3 separate regions of the Homo sapiens genome follow, and regions 2 and 3 are each linked to region 1. Evidence: promoter capture Hi-C in human tissues and cell types (Jung and others, 2019). All regions are on one chromosome and are shown on one strand. The core of a region is centred on a gene start or on the middle of the fragment in contact, and the rest is flanking DNA. Distances in the headings are between cores, read along the strand shown. Region 1 overlaps MAP4 (microtubule associated protein 4). Region 2 holds the start of ZNF589 (zinc finger protein 589). Region 3 holds the start of ELP6 (elongator acetyltransferase complex subunit 6).

Region 1 (2,935 bases), core at 231-2,730:
CCAGCTTTCATCCAGTGGCTCAAGGCTCTCTGGGCTCAAGGGAAGCAACTCCGGGAGAGATGGAGAATAGCATCACCCCTGGCTGCCCAGTGATTGGGGTGGTAAATGATAACTCTGAGCAGCTGAAGTGTGAGTCCCCACTCCTGGTGTCTCTAGCCCACCCAGCCCCCATTATTGAGCATTCACCCACCACCATTCCGCCAATCACTATGGTGTTCACCCAGGAACATTTGAATGCAAGCTGTCACATCAGAGACCATGATAAGGAGTTGGAGAAATTGAGTTCTACCGAGGAGGCTGTGCTCAACCAAGCCCCCCAGCAGAAAAAGGCAGTGCGCAGGGCCCTGTCTGAATGTTCTCACCTCTCAGTTCCCCCAGCTGTCAACCTTGCAGATAAGTACCCTGAACTCCCTGCCCGAGAAGAGCCTTCTTCTGGCCTGCTGCCTCCCCCTAGTAGCCCAATGCCTAGTCCTACACCTGGGAAACTGGGAGCTCCTGCTATGAAGCGCTCCATGACTGTGGGTGAGGAACAGACAGCTAGCTACAAATTGAGCCCTGGGAAACTGCCCATCTTGTCTACTAAAGAGATACCTCCTTTCATCTGTGAGGAACCAGTGGCCAAGAAGAGAGAAGAATTGGCTCACTTCAGCAACAGCAGCAGCAACTCTGGGAAGAAGGAACTCGGCACTGCTGGATTATATCTCCATAGTAAGCTGGAGCAGATTCCTGAAGGAAGCAGCAAGGAAAAAGGGCAGGAAGATTTTAGTGAAACTAGAATTGATTCATGCTCGCAGGTTTGCCAGCGAGGAGAGAAACAGCCAGGACAGACGGCTCTGGCAGGGAAGAAAGAAATTGAGGTCACTGCAACCCAGAGCACTCCATCGTTCCTGTTTGAAAAGCCCCCACGTGATGGTATGTTTCTAAATTTTGCCTCCATTGGGAACAAGCAGACAGCAAGGAAGGAACCAAAGTGACAGATTACCGGCAGAGCACTAAGCAGCTTTTTACAGCTGGGTTCTGTGACTGCCTGGGGAAAGCTTAATTCCCTTGTGTTGGAAGCTTGCTGGGAGTGAGGCAAGGAAGAGAACAAAGTGAATCTTGCAGGGTCAAGCTGAATGTCTTGCTAGCATGACAGATAATGTGAATTGAGTGTGCAAGTTTGGGGTGGAATGGGGTCAGAGAATGGTGGGTATAAAAACTAGACCCCCTTTCTTGACCTCATGTCACCCTGTCCAACCCATCCCCCATCCACCCAGCCCTCAGCTCCCTGTTGGTTTGAACCAGATGATTCCTGAGCTCTAAATCCTTCAATCCCAACTGATTGATTTCCTTGCTTGAAAATCTGTCACTTTATATAGATTCACAATGGGTTTATCAGCACTAACCTCCTCTCATTAAGTTGCACAATCTGGGTGGAAGCTCTGTTTTCTGTTTTTGCTTTGGAGAACGTTTTACTTTTGTTCAAACTGAAAAAGAGCCCTTTAAAGCTAGCTATTTAATATTCTTTCTGTGTTCTTCATGTTTGACCCAATCTTGCTTCTAGTTTTCTCTTTTTGTATGTGTTTTGAGAGGATTTGTGGGGAGAAAAAGAAGAAAGAGAAAGCAGGGAGAGAAGGAGAGACTTGCAACCTAATAAACAGCTAAATTTTGCGGTCTTTGTGACAGCCTTTTGTGTCTTTCTTCCTGGCCCTTTCTTTTCTTCCCCATCTCCCATCCCCCCACAGCTCTTATTGTGGTGGTCTAAAAAAGCTTGTGTTTCTCCGAGTCCAGTTTGAGCACAAAGGGCCATAATTCACAAACTTGTAAATGGGGATTTAAAACATGTGTTTTGCTTGTTTAAAAAAAAATAGTCTTGTTTCCTGGGACCTGTTTTCTCTAATATTTATTACTCTCAGTATATTTTTATGAAATTGTACTTTTTTTCTTTGAAAGTAAGAAATGGTATTTTCTAGGGGAGTGGTAAGTAGAAGACATACAGATGTTTTGGGTTTTTTTTTTTTATGGAGATAAAAAACATTTTTTGTTTTTTATGGAGATAAAAAACACGTTTTTTTATGGAGGCAAAGAAGCTTAATAGTTCCTCTTTGATTTCTTATGACTCCAGAATTACAAGCATTCAGGTGTCCCATGCTGTTGCTTCCTTCTAGCTGGGACAGAACTGTAAGCTCTTCCTGGACAGGACTTTGTCATCTTTTTCTTGATCCCCAGGTGCTTTGTTCAGTACCACATAACTTCTAGGTGATCATGAGTGAAGACTTTGTTTCAGAACAAGTTCTTTCTAATTCAGACTAACAGAAGTTTGTGCTAATAGAAAAAAATTTCAGATGACTGACAAATCCACCGATCCATTCACCCGATAAATGTTTAAATGCTGACTCTGCTAACCACTCTGTAGATAAAACTTTTATAGGAAGATTGTTTCATTTAACATGCCTACCATTTGCATTCACTATCTAGGCACTGGAAATTATCCTTATCCTCAAGCAACTTTTGATCCAGTTGGAGGACTGGGAGGCAGTGGGAGGGTTGTGAATTGTGGAAACATTTTGGAGGAAGTCACATTTGAGGTGGGCCTTGGAACCCTGGGATGCCAAATAATGCGGAGGGAAAGCCTTCCAGGCAAGGGAACTCATATTAAACAAAGATATGAAGCCTAGACAGCTCATGTTAGGTAAAAGAACAATGGAGGAATCTCAGGGCATCCAGTCACAGGAAATGTGGCCAGGCTGCTGCCATTGTGTATATCTCTCTTGGGACCTCTGCTTCTCCCTGCACATGTACTCCATTCTCTTCCCTTTAAAAATCTGTATTTCCTCTGTCATCTCTTTTTGCTTCCCTTGTAACTCTGCCCAGGACAGAATAGCATTGAGTTGCCATGGTTTGAGCTCTGTGGCCAGCTTTGTTACCACCATATATGTCAGGGTTCCGATGTTGC
Region 2 (2,772 bases), core at 87-2,586, 350 kb before region 1:
TCCTGTTGTTACATCCAAAGTCATTTGGGGCCGGGTGTGGTAGCTCCCACCTGTAATCCCAACACTTTGGGAGGCCGAGGCAGGTGGATCATCTGGGGTCAGGAGTTCAAGACCGGCCTGGCCAACATGATGAAACCCCGCCTCTACTAAAAATACAAAAAAATAGCCGGGCGTGGTGGCGTGTCCCTGTAATTCCAGCCGCTTGGTAGGCTGAGGCAGGAGAATCGCTGGAACCTGGGAGAAAGAGGTTGCAGTGAGCAGAGATCGCCCACTGCACTCCAGCCTGGGCTACAGAGCAAGACTCTGTCTCCAAAAAAAAAGTCTTTTGGGCCGGGTGGGGTGGCTAACACCTGTAATCCCAACATTGTGGGAGGCCAAGGTGGGTGGATTGCTTGAGGCCAGGAGTTCGAGACCAGCCTGGCAAATATGGCGAAATCCCCTCTCTACTAAAAATACAACAGCCGGGGTGGTGAGGCGCCGCCTGTAATCCCAGCTACTCCGGAAGCTGAGGCACGAGAATCACTTGAGCCTGGGAAAGCGGAGGCTGCAGTGAGCCTAGATCCCGCCACTGCACTCCGGACCGACTCAAAAAATATAAAAATATAATATACTCCGGGCGCGGTGGCTCACGCCTGTAATCCCAGCACTTTGGGAGGCCGAGGTGGGCGGATCACGAGGTCTGGAGTTCAAAACCAGCCTGGCCAACATGGTGAAATCCCCGTCTCTACTAAAAATACAAAAATTAGCCAGGCGTGGTGGAGGGCGCCTGTAATCCCAGCTGCTCGGCAGGCTGAGGCAGAGAACTGCTTGAACCCGGGAGACGGAGATTGCAGTGAACGGAGATCGCGCCACTGCACTCCAGCCTGGGCGACAGAGCGAGACTCCGTCTCAAAATAAATATGATATAATATAATAATACAAAATGCTGTTCTTCAGTTGCACTCCACACATCTCAAATGCTCAGCAGCCATTTATGGCCAATGACTGCCGGAGTGCACAAGTGCAGGATGCCCGGTGAAGAGTCGTGGAGTGAGCACCGTGGAGACTGTACGGGACACCTAGGGAGGAACCTGGCCCCCCAGGGGAGTAAGAGCCGCTGTAGGGGTAGTCAGCGCCTCACACAGCTCGCACCCCACGCGCATCCCTGGTGGATACGGCCGACGCCTGCGCGGCGCCTGCGGCTGGAGCACCGAATGGGGGAGGCGATCTCGCGGCCCCGACTCACCTTCCGCAGTCCAGCCCAGTAGCTGCTCCCGCGGGGCCCACATCTGCGCGCGCACGCACGCACGAAGCAAACGAGGTAGCAGCACCGTGTGTGAAACGGATTAGAATGCGCACCGCGGGCCACTGGCGGCGCCAGAAGAAAGAAGCAGGACTGGGTGAAGTGCGTCACCGCGCGGCGCGCAGCCTGCCGGGAAGCGTAGTTCTCGGGGCGAAATGCGGCTTGTGCAGGGCGAGAGAAAATGCTGAGGCGCACTTTGACCTTCTAGGTCCCCCTCGGCCGCAATATTTGGGGTTGTGCTTACCACAGGTACCCATAAGCAAAATATAGTGTTGTTTTCCATGGTTGTAAACATTATATAAATACACTTACAATGCCTGCTACTAGCTCTTTTGCGCAGTTCTATAATGACACGTGTTGACCTGTTCATTGTGTGTTCACTGCTGTGTGGTATCTAATGTAGAAATACACCAGGACTCCAATTGGACAGACTCATGCGCATCCATGGAGAGCTTCTCAAGGACAGTGGTTCGCAAACTTGTTGTTGTTAAAATCCTTTTACACTCTTAAAAATTACTGAGGACCCCAAAGAGCTTTTGAAACCGCCTTTGCAAAATTATACCTAAGGAAATTATGATGTTATAGGAGTTATTAAGAAATTATTTTAAGCAGATAGAGAAGGAAAGGGGTCCTTGGGAAGTTTTTGTTTCTTTTAAAGCAGCTCCAGAAAGGTTTCTTGTCTAGCAGGAAAGCCTGGGCTCCTAGAGCAGGATGGCAAGCTTTGATATGGAAATACAGGCCATTAGAAACTGGACGCACCCAAACATGGCGATTCCCGCCGTCCTTTTCTTTGCCCTGACATGTGCCTGGCAACATGGCCACCCCCCACATATTCCCACGTGTGTAGAACTTCATGGAGCCCTACATTTGCATATTAAAAAGCTAGGGTGGGAGGGCCAGGTTTTTGGCTGCCACATAAATGACACATCTGATCAAACTAATCCCCTGAGCCCTATGGAAACCAGACACCGCCTCCTCCAGCATCCTCAGATAAGCAGCCACTTTTCCGCACACGGCGCTTTCTCTTTGTTGGAATCCCCGCTCCCTCTGTCTCTGTATGGGGGAGCTGTTTTCGTCTTCCTTCCTTCTTTCTTGCCTATTAAACTTTTCGCTCCTTAAAACCACTCCACGTGTGTCTGTGTTATTAAGCCTATCAGAGACCAAGGACCCTGGTGTTCCTCCAGTCATCAGAGCCTTATCAATGACAGTAAAAGATATCAGATCTAACCCACCTCATCTTCCTTTCAACCTCTAAACTGTCTTTGTCCACTTCTGGGCATAGGCCAAAGTAGCCTTGGGAAGGAATTCAGTTTATAGCTTAAATAATAGCCCTTCCCAAGGGCTAAACTGTTCTTGTAAAATGAATGAAAGGCCACCAGCCACCAAATTAGGATGAGAAGGGCTGGAATTCTAAATATTACCAGCCATTATTCCAGAGGCCCTAAGACGCACAACTTCCCCAATTACTCTTTTGAAGCACAACTTCCCCA
Region 3 (2,700 bases), core at 184-2,683, 380 kb after region 1:
TAGTGACTGTCAATAAACTTGACTTTGGTGGAATTACAGGTTTGTCCACTGATCTGAGGCTGATTGGGCTAGAACAAAACTATATACGGTATAATAGATATAAATGTTATGGAAAAAAATAAAAGCAAGGAAAAAGAAGTGTTGGGAAAGGGACAGTTTGTGATTTAAGTAAGGTGCTCAGGGAAGGCCTCACGAATAAAGTGACATCGGAGCAGAGACCTGAAGGAAGTGGGGAATTTTAAAATCAGCTTAATATCTGGGAAAAGGGGCATTCCAGGAAGAGGGAAGAGTTAGTATAAAGGCTCTGAGGACAGGCATACAGGGCGTGTTGCAACCACACTGTTTTTTAACGAAGTCTCACACTGCTGCCCAGGCTAGAGAGCAATGGCGTGATCTCGGCTTACTGCAACCTCTGCCTCCCAGGTTCAAGCGATTCTACTGGCTCAGCCTCCCGAGTGGCTGGGATGACAGGCGCCCCCCACCACGCCAGGCTAATTTTTTGTATTTTTAATAGAGAAGGGGGTTTCACTATATTGGCCAGGCTAGTCTCGAACTCCTGACCTCGTGATCCCTCCGTCTAGGCCTCCCAAAGTGCTGGCATTACAGGTGTGAGCCACCGCGCCCAGCCGCAACCACACTTTCTTAGTGAGACCCACCCTGACAACCTCTTTAATTCTGGAACCTACCCCTGCCCCCATTGGTACTCTCTAATCCCACTTTGCTTTTCTCCACACAACTTTTCAAGATATAATTCCGTGTCGGCCGGGCGTGGTGGCTCATGCCTGTAATCCCAGCACTTTGGGAGGCCGAGGCCGGCGGATCACGAGGTCGGGAGATCAAGACCATCCTGGCTAACACGGTGAAACCCCGTCTCTACTAAAAATACAAAAAATTAGCCGGGCGTGGTGGCGGGCGCCTGTAGTCCCAGCTACACTCGGGAGGCTGAGGCAGGAGAATGGCGTGAACCCAGGAGGCGGAGACTGTAGTGAGCCGAGATCGCGCCACTGCACTCCAGCCTGGGCGACAGGGCAAGACTCCGTCTCAATTAAATAATAATAATAATAATAATAATAATAATAATAATAATAAATTCCCTGTCCTTTGTTTTTGTTCATCGATGTAGCCCAAGCTCCCAGGAGTGTGGGGCATACAGAAGGCGCTTGACAGCCACGTGTGGAGAAAAGGAGCCCGGGGCTGGGCAGAGAGCGAGGCCAAGGGAAGAAGAATACTCGGTCGCGTGGAGCCTTGGGGGCCCACTGGGAGGGCTCGGGCGCCACGCAGATCTGCGCGGAATGAGCCGCCAGAGGCCGCTGGCAGTCGCACAGAGAAGCCCATCGTTTCCTACCACCTGGGACTCGACGGACGTCTACGCGCGTGCGCAGCGGTCCCATCGAGGCACCCGCCTCATTGGCTGTGGCTGGCTCGCAAAAGTGGCATTGCGCATGCGCGCTTCCTTGCGCGAGCCGGGCTGTCGGGTGTGTTTTGCTCTCCAGCCTCCGTCGTCTCTGCAGCACTCCGGGTTCTCCTCCAGAGCGCTAGTCCCAGGAGCTCGGAATGTTCGTGGAACTTAATAACCTGCTTAACACCACCCCCGACAGGGCGGAGCAGGTAAGAGGTCCCGCTGGCCGGAAGGGGGCGGGACCTGGCAGGGCAGCGGAATACTGCATCCGGGAGGCGGTGCGCACGACCCCGGGGAATGGCGCGACGACCCGGCACGGGGTACCTGGGAGTTGTAGTCCGCAGAGGATCGACCCGGGGATTGGACTGGAGGCTTGGGCCCGCCGAAAGTGGGCTTCTGGGCCATCTCGCATATTCTCAACGGCTGTGCGTGTCCTTAAAAGTCCCTGGGAAGCGGCCGGGCGCGGTGGCTCACCCCTGTAATCCCAGCAGTTTGGGAGGCCGAGGCGGGTGCATCATCTAAGGTCAAGAGTTCGAGACAAGTCTGGCCAAGATGGTGAAACCCCCGTCTCTACGAAAAATACAAAAATTAGCCGGGCGTGGTGGCTCATGCCTGTAATCTCAGCTACTCGGGAGGCTGAGACAGGAGAATTGCTTGAACCCGGGAGGCGGAGGTTGCAGTGACCCGAGATCTCGCCACCGCACTCCAGCCTGGGCGACAGAGCGGGACTCCACCTCAAAAAAAAAAAAAAAAAGTACCTGGGAAGCATGGCCGACAGTGGGGTTGGGTTATATTCGCGGACGTGAACTGTGGCGCGCTGTGCATGTTCACTGGGGTGGGGGGTCCCAGGCGCTCAGAGGAGACTGCAGAATAGGCCCGAGAGGAGAGGGGAGTTCGTTTCGCCGCCGTCTTCATGGGCGAGCTTCCTAACCGCCACCTCGCCCCGGAGCAATTGGCACATTGTATTGAACGCTGCTGTTCTTCTTACTCTTCCTCCTTGTGATCTCTAATAGAACTGTTAGAAGCAGGACAGAGCCAAATTGGCTTGGACCAAGTCCGTCTTGGGCACCCCAGGCTGGCCTGTTCTCTCCACCCTCCTCACACTCCGGGGTACCTTGAAACCTTTCACATTTTAACGTAGGAGTAACCTCTTTCAGGAGTGTATCTTTTGGCTTATTTATTTATTTATTTATTTTTGATGGAGTCTCGCTCCCTCGCCTGGGCTGGAGTGCACTGGCGCGATCTCGGCTCCCTGCAACCTCACCTCCCGGGTTCAAGTGATTCTCCTTATTCAGCCTCCC

What was found. Contacts are between HindIII fragments. The study calls those that stand out against the background at their distance.
Region 2: a contact is called between the fragment with the promoter of ZNF589 here and a fragment that was not itself captured in region 1, in 4 of the 25 tissues and cell types used here (adrenal gland, aorta, dorsolateral prefrontal cortex and 1 more).
Region 3: the fragment with the promoter of ELP6 here is called in contact with a fragment that was not itself captured in region 1 in 2 of the 25 tissues and cell types used here (adrenal gland and lymphoblastoid cells).

The regions. Positions count from the first base shown.
Region 1 is chr3:47,889,001-47,891,935 of GRCh38, reverse strand. The region is part of intron 10 of MAP4 (microtubule associated protein 4); the gene reads left to right. Among named protein-coding and RNA genes, the nearest start is that of MIR1226, 41 kb to the right of the region's middle. The HindIII fragment of the contact is 3,896 bases long and covers 1-2,935 here.
Region 2 is chr3:48,239,668-48,242,439 of GRCh38, reverse strand. It overlaps ZNF589 (zinc finger protein 589), which reads right to left and starts at 1,336. Exons shown (of 4, transcript NM_016089.3): 1 at 1,226-1,336. The coding sequence starts at 1,268. RefSeq lists enhancers at 1,167-1,461, 652-1,569, 1,887-2,181. The HindIII fragment of the contact is 6,944 bases long and covers 1-2,772 here.
Region 3 is chr3:47,512,445-47,515,144 of GRCh38, reverse strand. It overlaps ELP6 (elongator acetyltransferase complex subunit 6), which reads left to right and starts at 1,433. Exons shown (of 7, transcript NM_001031703.3): 1 at 1,433-1,608. The coding sequence starts at 1,555. RefSeq lists enhancers at 1,469-1,578, 1,909-2,018. The HindIII fragment of the contact is 13,702 bases long and covers 1-2,700 here.